Regions from separate parts of the Homo sapiens genome. Here region 2 is linked to region 1. Evidence: promoter capture Hi-C in human tissues and cell types (Jung and others, 2019). All regions are on one chromosome and are shown on one strand. Each heading gives the region's core, a stretch centred on a gene start or on the middle of the fragment in contact. The rest is flanking DNA. Distances are from core to core; before and after follow the strand shown. Region 1 holds the start of ZBP1 (Z-DNA binding protein 1). Region 2 overlaps CSTF1 (cleavage stimulation factor subunit 1).

Region 1 (5,047 bases), core at 2,405-4,904:
TAAGAGCCACAAGACTGACCAATGGGGTATTAGTGGAATGTGTGTGCAACTTGTAAGATGCGTGCTTAAAGGGAGATATCTGCCCTTGTTCCCTTTCCTACTCCCTGCTGGAAGGAATGCAGATGTAATGGCTGGAGCTTAGCAGCCATTCTAAAATGTAAGGCAAACTTGAGAATGAAGGCCACAAATGGCAGACCGACAATGTAGAAGGACCCCAGGTCACCACACTAAACCTGGAATGCCTACAACTCTTTCAAGAAAAAGACACAACTCTATTGTTTTAGCCACTGGTATTTAGGCTTAAAGATAATCCTTAGGGTCAAACTCAACTTAAACAGCTCTTAAATAGAGAAGAGAAATAAAGGCAATCTAAGTATTTAAAAGTAAGACTCCCACTCAGTGGGTGACAAGCACATAGCAGATTCCTGGCTTCATCTCCAGATGTGCCATGGAATGCAAAGAAAGGTGGAACCTACCCACGTGAAATGTTTTCTTCTTTTTGTCTATTGCTCTCTTTTGTTTGTTTGCTGTCTAAAGAGATACTGTGGAGATGCATCATGTTTTCTAACTTATGCAAATGTTGTGAGCACATACTAAGTGTCAAAAATGCTTTTTCTTAGTATCTCTGCTTTATAGTTAAAGAAACCGCGGCTCAGAGAGGTAGCGCCACACAGCTGGGAAGGAGAACCTGCCCTGGAGAAGAGACAAGACAGAATCCTTGTCCAGGGAACTTCCCGAGGCGCTTGGTCTCCACTGGCATGGTGGTCCCTGCTACAGACTCCTAAAAATGGCTCAGGCCCAGAGGGGCTCCATGTGCCTTCAGGATGTGGCCACGGGGACAGAAAGGGGTCATCCAAGCACAGTCTGGATGGAGACCAGCCGTGAGGGGCACCAGCCTCCTCCCTGCAGCAGAAGCCATCTTCCTAGAAGTAAGGCTGGCACCCAAGACCAAGCTAACATCCCTCAACCTGACCTGCAAGCCCACCAGGGACCTGGGGTCAAGGCCTGAGCTGCAGAGGCCAGGGAAGGAAGGGGAGAAGCTAGCATGGGCCCTGGAGATGGGGGGAGAGAGAGTTTCCCCACGGGGGAGTGGTGGGCTGTGTCAAGACCAACACTGGGAGGCCAGGCCGGAAGAGCACAAAGAACTGCCTGGAGGCTTCACAGAGAAACAGCTGGAATCTGACTCCTTCCAGGAAAGATGAGTGAAGAAACCACGATGAGTGACTGAAGAGACAGGAAGAATAAAGGATGATGCAGGACAAGGCAGTGGGAGGGGTGGGCACGTCTTGGAGCTGTGATTCATCAAGTCTGGAGTCCAACCATGGGTTGGGGTAGGAGCTCCTCCCTGCAGATCAGAGGGAACTTGAAGCCAAGGTGCGCCCAAGCCCAGGTTGGTGAGCGGCATCACCTGGTGGCCAGTTCGGGCGTGGCACCCCAGACACCCAAGGGACTCAGCCTTGCAGGGCTCAGCCGGAGCCCCTTCCGGAGGGCACCTTCATCATCTCCCTCAGCACCCCACCTACCCCCCCATTTAAAGAGCACTATTGTTATTTCATAGGGTGATACCTGCAGTTTTCGCTTTTACATAAAAGGAGAATAAAAGCATCCTGCAGTTTGCTGTTATTGACTTGCCCCAGACTTACTGGTTCTCCACCTGGAAGCAGGAAAAGTCACCCAGGAGCATAAAAAATCTCACCCTCGGGCCCCAGCCGCAGAGGTTGGAGTTGACTAGTCTGGGCCGGCCTGGGCATTGAGACTTTTTTTTTGCTTCAAACACTTAACATGCAGGCAGGGCGGAAGACCTGGGCTCCAGGTGCTCGCTCTGCAAAGACAGATAGCTTCAGGATAAACCTCCGGACCCCCTTTCCATTTGTATTTGCCGCTAAGCTGCTCCTTATGCATAAATGGGGTCTGCAAGGAGCACAGACGTCTCTAGCCCTCCCAGCCCTCTGCAGATGAGACACAGACCCCAAGTCCAGGGACTTCCAGGGCTGAGCTCTCAACCCCCTTGGCTGCCAAAAGCTGGGGGGCCTTGTACACAGCATTCACCTCTGTGGGCCTCAGTTCCTCCTTCTGTGATCTGGAAGAGAACAGTGGCTCTGAGTTTTTCTGAGGTCACTGGCCCTTTTGAGAATTATGTAAGCAACGGGTCCTCTCCCAGAAGCATTCCTGTGAGGTGACCACGGTGCCCGTGACTACGGATGGCTCTGGGGCTCTAGCCCGACAGCTGGGCTGTATCAGCCCCTTAGGTCCTCACCTCGACCCCATGCGCTAGGTCCTTTGATTAAGTCCTTTTACACATGGGGAAACTGAGGCACAGAGGGGTTAAATAATTTGTCCGAGGTCACACAGCCGGTAAATGGCGGAGCCAGGTTTGGACCCAAGCATGCTGACCCAGGCTTGCATTCCGAACCACTCGGCTGCTGACCCCAGGCATCTGACTCTGGAATTAATAAGCAAGTTTTATGATGAGGCGGGGAACTCCACGCCATCTGTGCACTAAGGGTGATTCACCAGTGACTTCTGGGTGTTATAGATCAGGAAACACAATTGGGGAATGGACAGGACAAGCTCTGTCATGGACTCTGTGTGGCCTTGGACAAGTGATCTTGCCTTTCTAGCCTCAGTTTCCCCCCTGAGAAGAAGACAGAACTGGCCCCTACCCTGTAGATGGGTTGGAGGAGCACTTGAGATTGGAAAACGCATAATAGGTGTTCATTAAAGAGGCTCACATGGATACACACAAGAACAATCTCAGGGCCTTCACGCACCTAAATGTTCTGCCCCTAGTGTGGGCAAGGGAAACAAACTGGAAGAAGACAAGAAAAGCCACTGAGAGCTGGGGACGGTGCCTCTGTAGCACCTGTGAGTCCCCGAGGAGGAAGTACTACAGGAACCAGCGGGGCCGGGCGTGGGGGCTTGCGGCTGGAATCCCAGCACTGTGGGAGGCCAAGGCAGGCAGATCGCTTGAGCCCAGGAGTTTGAGACCAGCCTGGGCAACACGATGAAACCCCATCTCTACAGAAAATACAAAAATTAGCCGGGCATGGTGGTCTAGGCCTGTGGTCCCAGCTACTAGGGAGGCTGAGAGGTGGGAGGATCGCTGGAGTCCGGAAGGTCGAGGCTGCCGTGAGCCGTGATCACGCCACTGCACTCCAGCCTGGATGACAGAAACCCTGTCTCAAAAACAAACAAAAACACAGAAACCAGATAACCAGCCCCAGCCCCTCACATCATCAGAGTGATGCCACGCCCTGGCATCCCCCTCCACGTGGTGCATGCTCTTTTTTTTATTTTTATTTTCTTCAGTTCTCTGATGCTGATTCAGAAAATAAAAATGTAGAGGTCCAGGTGGGCTGTGCCTGGAACGGGGAAGGTGAGGGAAGTCCTCTGTCTCAAAGGCCTCTTCGGAGGACGCTCTGGTCTTGCCAAGTTTACAGCTCCTCCCTGTCAACATCAAGTCAGGTCCCCAACTCTGTCTTGCTCATCCACCTGGCTTCCACTTTTTTTTTCTTTCAAAAGACGAACAGAGAAGTTTCATTTTCTTTTTCTCCTGAAACCGAATCTGGCCGGCCTGGCTAGGCATCTATTTCCGGGCTGTAAGCAGCTGACACCTGCCCAGTGGAAGCTGGCATCCCTCCCCTTGTGGGTTCAGAGCTGCAAGAAGCACCAGGCTCGGCCACTTCAGAAGCCCCAGCCTCGACCTAGCCCACCCTCTCAGGGCCACAGTGCAGAAGCCTGCACACCTGCCAAGTCTCTCCGACTCCTTGCAGCTGCTGTCAGCATGGCCCAGGCTCCTGCTGACCCGGGCAGAGAAGGTACAGTACTTCTTCCTTCCAAGGACCAGCGGTAGCTCCCGGGGTGAGATTTCTACTTCTCTTTCCTCCTGTTTCGCTTGGTCCAGATCATGATGACAATAGCAGTATCCTAAAGAATAGTAGACCAGCTGGGCGTGGTGGCTCACGCCTGTAATCCCAGCACTTTGGGAGGCGAGGTAGGTGGACTGTTTAAGCTCAGGAGTTTGACACTAGCCTGGCCAACATGGCGAAACCCCATCTCTACTAAAATTACAAAAATTAACCGGGCATGGTGGCGCATGCCTGTGATCCCAGCTACTCGGGATGCTGAGGCTGGAGAATCGCTTGAACCCGGGAGGTGGAAGTTGTAGTGAGCTGAGATGTCGCCATTGCACTCCAGACTGGGTGACAGAGTGAGATTCCATCTCAGAAAAAAAAAAAAAAAATAGAAAGGGACAGCATAGCCATCCCCCTTTGACAGCTGACTGTGCCCCAGGCACCTCGAAACATGCTTTCCAAGCATTTCCTGATGGCCTGCAGGGACAAGTGCCATGTCATTCCCATTTTATAGATAACTGAGGCCCTGAGAGGTGAAATGACACTCTCAGGGTAACACAGCTGGCGAACGCTGGTGTTAGCGTCTGAACACCCATGTCACAGTCATATCGAGAACAAAGCGGTTTGCTTTGATGAGATACATGTGTGCCTTTGTTCCCCCTTGTTGCATCCTTTCCTCAACTAACATTTCATTCATTTTATTCCTGGAAGAGTTGCAATGAAAGCCAATAGTGTATCGAGTAATTGCTGTTCTCTAGGGTCTCCACTAAGCGCTGTGGACTGTAGGTGAAGTGTGGTTTTGCGGTTTGGGGGATGTGTTTGTTTTGTTTTTAATCCTCACCACAATCTTTGAAGTAGTTATTACTGTCTCCATTTCACAGAAGAGGAACCTGAAGCCGGAGGGGAGGTCACACAGCTAGTAGTTGGCAGGGCTAGGAGCTCAAACCCAGGAAATCAGCCATCAGAATTTTAAAAAACCAACACAGAGTGTGCCCCGGGAGGGCTAATGTCAGGGTGTGGCCCAGGAGCCGGGCTGACCGCGGAGGTCCTGTGGAGCTTCCTCTTCGGGGACTCACGGGTGCTGACGCAGGTTCCGGACTCAGCCCTCGCTGGCTTTTCTTGTCTTCCTCCCCAGTTGATTTTCCTTTTGTGACCAAATTGTTGCCTACACCTGCTCCATTTTACAATTTCCC
Region 2 (5,362 bases), core at 508-3,007, 1.2 Mb after region 1:
CACCCATCAGAGGTAACAGTCAATACTTTGGTGAATACTCTTTCGAAATATCTAAGTGTTATGTGCTCACTTGTAAATTCTCTCTTTTTTTTTTTTTTTTGAGATAGAGTCTTACTCTGTTGCCCAGGCTGGAGTGCAATGGTGTGATCTCGGCTCACTGCAACCTCTGCCTCCTGGGTTCAAGAGATTCTCCTGCCTCAGCCTCCTGAGTAGCTGGGATTACAGGCATGTGCCACCACACTCAACTAATTTTTGTATTTTTAGTAGAGATGGGGTTTCACCATGTTGGCCAGGCTGGTCTCAAACTCCTGACCTCAGATGATCTGCCCACCTTGGCCTCCCAAAGTGCTGGGATAATAGGTGTGAGCCACAGTCCCTGGCTTCATTTGTAACTTCTTTAAGTCAGAGCATTTGTCATATACTATTAATATTCAAGCATATGTAGTGCAGATCTGTAAAGACAGAATACAGCTTAGTGGATAAAAACACAAAGTCTGTGTGGTCAGATGTGGGTTCAACACTAATGTGACCCTGGGCAAATTACTTAACATTCCTCAGCCTTAATTTTCTCATCTGTTCCATGGAGTAGTTACAGAACCTACCCCATAAGGCTGTGAGGATTAAGAATAAGAGAATGCAAAGGAGGCTCTGGAGTGCGAGTGCTCAGCCCATGTTAGCATGCATACTTATTTTTAAAGGTGTATGTTGTCCATGGATGCGTAACAGATTTCCTCAGTGCTTCTTATTGGACATTTATGCTGTTTCTAACTTTCAGCCACTCCAAATGATGTTGGGACACACATCCTTTTATGGGCATGTGCATGTCTGTCCAATTACCTCTTTAGGTTGAATTTCTAAGAGTAGATATAGTGGGTCAAAAAGCGTGTATTTAAAATTTTGATATGACACCAAACTGTGCTGAAATATTTTACCAGCTGACTCTGACCAACAAAATATGATTTCCCGAAATCTCTATCAATAGTAGATAATATAAATCTTTAAGACTCCTGAAATCTGATTAACAAAACCAGGTCCCCATATTCATTTCTTGGGTCTGCAGCAAGGCTGGCCACCTTTTCTTACATTTCCTGACCATTTTTCTCTTCTGCAGCCCCCTGTCCTTTGGCTCCTTTTTTCTCGAGTTTGGACTCATCTTTTTCCCATATGAGTTCTCTTTATAGATTAAGGATGTTAACTCAATGTCTAACATCTGTATATATGCTATAACCATTTTCTCCCAGTCCTGTATGTTATTTATATTGTTTTTAATTTTTTGCATCCCAATTTCTAAAGTTTTGATAGTTTTTCCTTTTTCATCATTTCAAAAACCCTCTGAATTCTAACTAATTATTATTATTATCATTTTTTGAGACGGAGTCTTACTCTGTCGCCCAGGCTGGAGTACAGCAGCGCAATCTCGGCTCACTGCAACCTCCACCTCCCAGGTTCAAGCTATTCTCCTGCCTCAGCCTCCCAAGTAGCTGGGACTACAGGCGCCCGCCACCAAGCCCAGCTAATTTTTGTATTTTTCATAGAGACGGGGTTTCACCATATTGGCCAGGCTGGTCTCAAACTCCTGACCTTGTGATCTGCCCACCTCGGCCTCCCAAAGTGCTGGGATTACAGGTGTGAGCCACCGCGCCTGGCCCAAATTCTAACTAATTATTAAAACTGGGAACAGAAATCTTAACATGCTGACATGACAGGCGCTTGACCTGTGAAATGAGAAAAAAGGAAAAGGGGAATCTGTGCATAAATTCAGCATAATCACATTTTTGAAAAACCACACTGCTATTCCCCACTAAAACAAGCCAATCAACCTCATACTATTATAAAACACCCAAAACATTCCTAGAGCAAATATATAAGCTATTGTCAGTAGGCTGGTGTGTATCTGTCCAGATACAGCACACTCCTTAAAACAGTTATAACTTCTATAGGGGGAGTACTTTCACATTTACCCTGATCACTTTTTTATCTTCTTTTTGCAACAAACACAACTATTATAAAGTAGTTCTTTATAATAAATACTTTTCAGAACAACTTTATACAAGTGTTTCAATGAAGTCACCAAGAATTATGATAAAAATGGCTCTTCCTAAGATTTGCTAGTGGTACCAGAAGCCAGAAAGATGGCTGGGGAAGGGAACTTTGGTTACAATGAGACAAATCTAAGGCAAGTTATGCTGCCCCCTAGTGGGTCAGATGTCACTGACTCTTCAATGCAAACTTAAACACAATCCAGTCCCTTCCAATACTGTTTTCTTGTGATTTTTTTTGAGTTATGCTCATGCCAATTTTAGTGTATGATACAAACATATCTCACAATGGAAGAAACAATCAGAAATTTTCTGGAGGTTTTCTACCAAACAACAGTCTTTGCTGCTACAAGGAACAGAAGACAGTGTTTTAACATTCATTATCAAATAACCAGACTTGGGCCCTACTAGTGATAGGATAAATTTAAATGGATTTCATTATAAAAAGACTCCACAGGCACTACTGTTACCAATGAGACCAACATACATAAATGAGAATTCAGTGGATGCAATTTTTTTCTGTCTGCTGAGCCTACTTTATATCTGCATTCAGAATTAACGTGGTTTCCTTTGCGGGCTAGGTCTGCTCTCTTAGGAATGGGATAAGATCTTCCCTCTCAGCCATTCTTTCATGAATACATATATTAATAATACTGAGATCTACTATTGGAAACTTTTCTCTGGATTGCTTTCACATTTCTGTGGGAAGAGGGCATGCCAGTCTACAAATGGATCACCAGGTTCTCAAATGTTACTTGCATGGAATCCAGCCCTAGTCCACGGTGTGAGGTGCTCAGAAGAGCAAAGAAAGCACCGTTCTATTTCCAAGTCGTGTAGCCTTGGCTAAATGACTTAACCTGTAAGTCTTGGTTTCCTCTTATCTAAGAAAGGGTAACATCTGCCTTGCTCAATGCATAGATATTGTGTTGCTCTATTGTGAGGTCTTAAAAGAGAGTTCTGGAAAGTGTAAACACTACAGAAATGTTAAGTAACATCAACGTCTCACATACCCGTGTATCTGACCAGTGTTCGTCCCGTTGATATTTCCCAAAGTTTAGCTACAGAGTCTTTTCCACTTGAGAGAATGTATTTAGAATTTTTGGAAAAAATGGCAGAACAAACTTCAGCACCGTCATGTGCTTTCTCAAAAGTTGTGATGCATCGATTTGAAACACCATCCCATAATTTGATGCAGCCGTCCTTGCTTCCAGTTACGTACATATTGGCACTAGAATTGTAATTAACGGAACATATAGCATCGGTGTGTTGATCTTGAGGATTGCAAGAGACAAAACATTGAAAGGTGTTGATATCATAAAGGCGAAGAGTAGGATGCTGAGTTCCGACAAGTATAAAGTCTCCAGAAGGATGAAAAGAGATGGAACGTAACATTTCAGCTTCCTGTTGGGACAGAGACATTAATACAAGTGACCAACTGGTGAACAATTAAATCCAGAGGAAATGTGGAAAATATCTGGCTGATGAAAAGAATCTATAAAACAATTATTAGATATTACACAGGTATCATAAGAAAAAAAGTGCTTTCTGGAACATATGAAAGTATTTTTTGAATAGATTTCCAAAACTAAATATTTACTGGTTATATTATTCCAAAAACTACAGAAGTGAGCTTCATTATTTACAAATGAACACTGAGTAAACTAAGGATGGAGTATTATCAGACAATGACACATTCATGCATGGTTAACTGAAGTACAACTTGTACCTAAGAGCTTCTTTAATTTGCTCTAGGGCTGCAAATATTGAGTGAAAAATTAAGTTTATTATTATTTTTTTCAGACAGGGTCTTGCTCTGTCGCCCAGGCTGGAGTGCAGCGGCATGGTCACAGCTCACTGCAGGCTCAACCTCTTGGGCTCAAATGATCATCCTTGCCTCCGCCTCCTGAGTAGCTGGGACTATCGGCGCGTGCCACCATGCCCAGCTGATTAAAAGAATTTTTTGTAGAGATGAGGTCTCACTACATTGCTCAGGCTGACCATAAACTTCTGGGCTCAAGTGATCCTCCCACTTTGGCTTCTCAAAGTGCTGGGATTACAGACATGAGCCACTGCAACCAGCCTAGTTTAATTATCAAACAGACAGAAGCCACAACTAAAACATTAGTATTTCTGCAATGCATATTCAAAATAGGGTACCGAATGTCACCTTGCCAGGAAATACTTAATACTTTCAAATGAACTTTTTTTTTATTCCTCTAAGTTATATATTAGTGAAGCTGGTCGTGTTTTGTTTATAACAGGGATCTACAACCTTTAGAGAGTGATATGGATTCCAAACCCTCCAAAGGGTCAGATTATAAACTCTGACCAGCCAGAGGGAGCAGGTACATGATAGCATGTGATCTATGTGCCAACAAAATCTGATCCATGTGCCATCGGGCATGCATCCTGGTCTGTACGCATCTTACAGGATGATCACTGAGACTACTTTTAAAAAGAGAATAGTTGTACAATAGCTCATTGTATTTAAGAAAAAATGTAAAGCTCCTTTCTAAAGATTCCTACCTGAATGTATTTGAAGGCTCTTTTTGCTGATGGTTTGGAATAATCAAATAATTTAAGAGTATAATCCCTTGAACCAGAAGCCAGGATCTGTTCTGTTGGGTGGAAAGCAAGGCACGTGACTTCATCCACATGGTCATAAAGAGTTCGAATCACTGGGTGGTTTTCCATATTTTGTTGTGCGGTCTCATTCATCATGACCTAGACCAACAAGAAGAGATGCTCAAGGCACAGAATGTGTCTGAATCCAAGTGCACAATCCACAACTGTAGCAAACTAAAGCTGGTTTCAACCATACTCTCATTTTTCCAAAAATGAAAAACAGAAGGCAATCAATAAGTATGTGACTGGAATTTTTACCTCTATTGGCATGGCACTTTTGGCCAACATCCTCTCTGTGTCAAGTATCTTTATCGAAGCATCAGCAGACCCAGTAGCTATTAACTGTCCATCTCTACTATAGGTAGCTACACGGCATGGTCCTTTATGTGATGTGACATAGCATGTTTCGTACTCAGAAGCCTCTGGGGACATAGTCTGAACATCTGCATCAAATTCCAGGTCAATCCCTGTGCCAGGGGCAACAGTATCTGAACGACCAATTGCATACTGAACTGCGGTGTCATCGTTTTCCATTCCTGAAAGAAATCAAAATTAAGGGCGTAACAAAACAAGTGTTTTTTCTTAAAAAGGCCAAGATAAAATTCTAGATCCAAACTGGAAAGATGCTCACCAGTGTCAACCTCCTATTTCTTGGAGCCGCGTGACACCTAACACTTTACAAAACTGTGTATTTTGCC

Evidence for each region. The method cuts DNA at HindIII sites, captures the fragments that hold promoters and counts their contacts. A contact is called where the count stands out against the background at its distance.
Region 2: a fragment that was not itself captured here is called in contact with the fragment with the promoter of ZBP1 in region 1 in 1 of the 25 tissues and cell types used here (spleen).

Annotation. Positions count from the first base shown.
Region 1 is chr20:57,619,033-57,624,079 of GRCh38, reverse strand. It overlaps ZBP1 (Z-DNA binding protein 1), which reads left to right and starts at 3,654. Exons shown (of 8, transcript NM_030776.3): 1 at 3,654-3,818. The coding sequence starts at 3,785. RefSeq lists enhancers at 3,405-3,694, 3,825-3,874, 4,955-5,047. The HindIII fragment of the contact is 12,502 bases long and covers 1-5,047 here.
Region 2 is chr20:56,397,045-56,402,406 of GRCh38, reverse strand. It overlaps CSTF1 (cleavage stimulation factor subunit 1), which reads right to left. Exons shown (of 6, transcript NM_001324.3): 3 at 4,923-5,200; 4 at 4,566-4,763; 5 at 3,050-3,440. Among named protein-coding and RNA genes, the nearest start is that of CSTF1, 7.1 kb to the right of the region's middle. The HindIII fragment of the contact is 6,245 bases long and covers 1-4,879 here.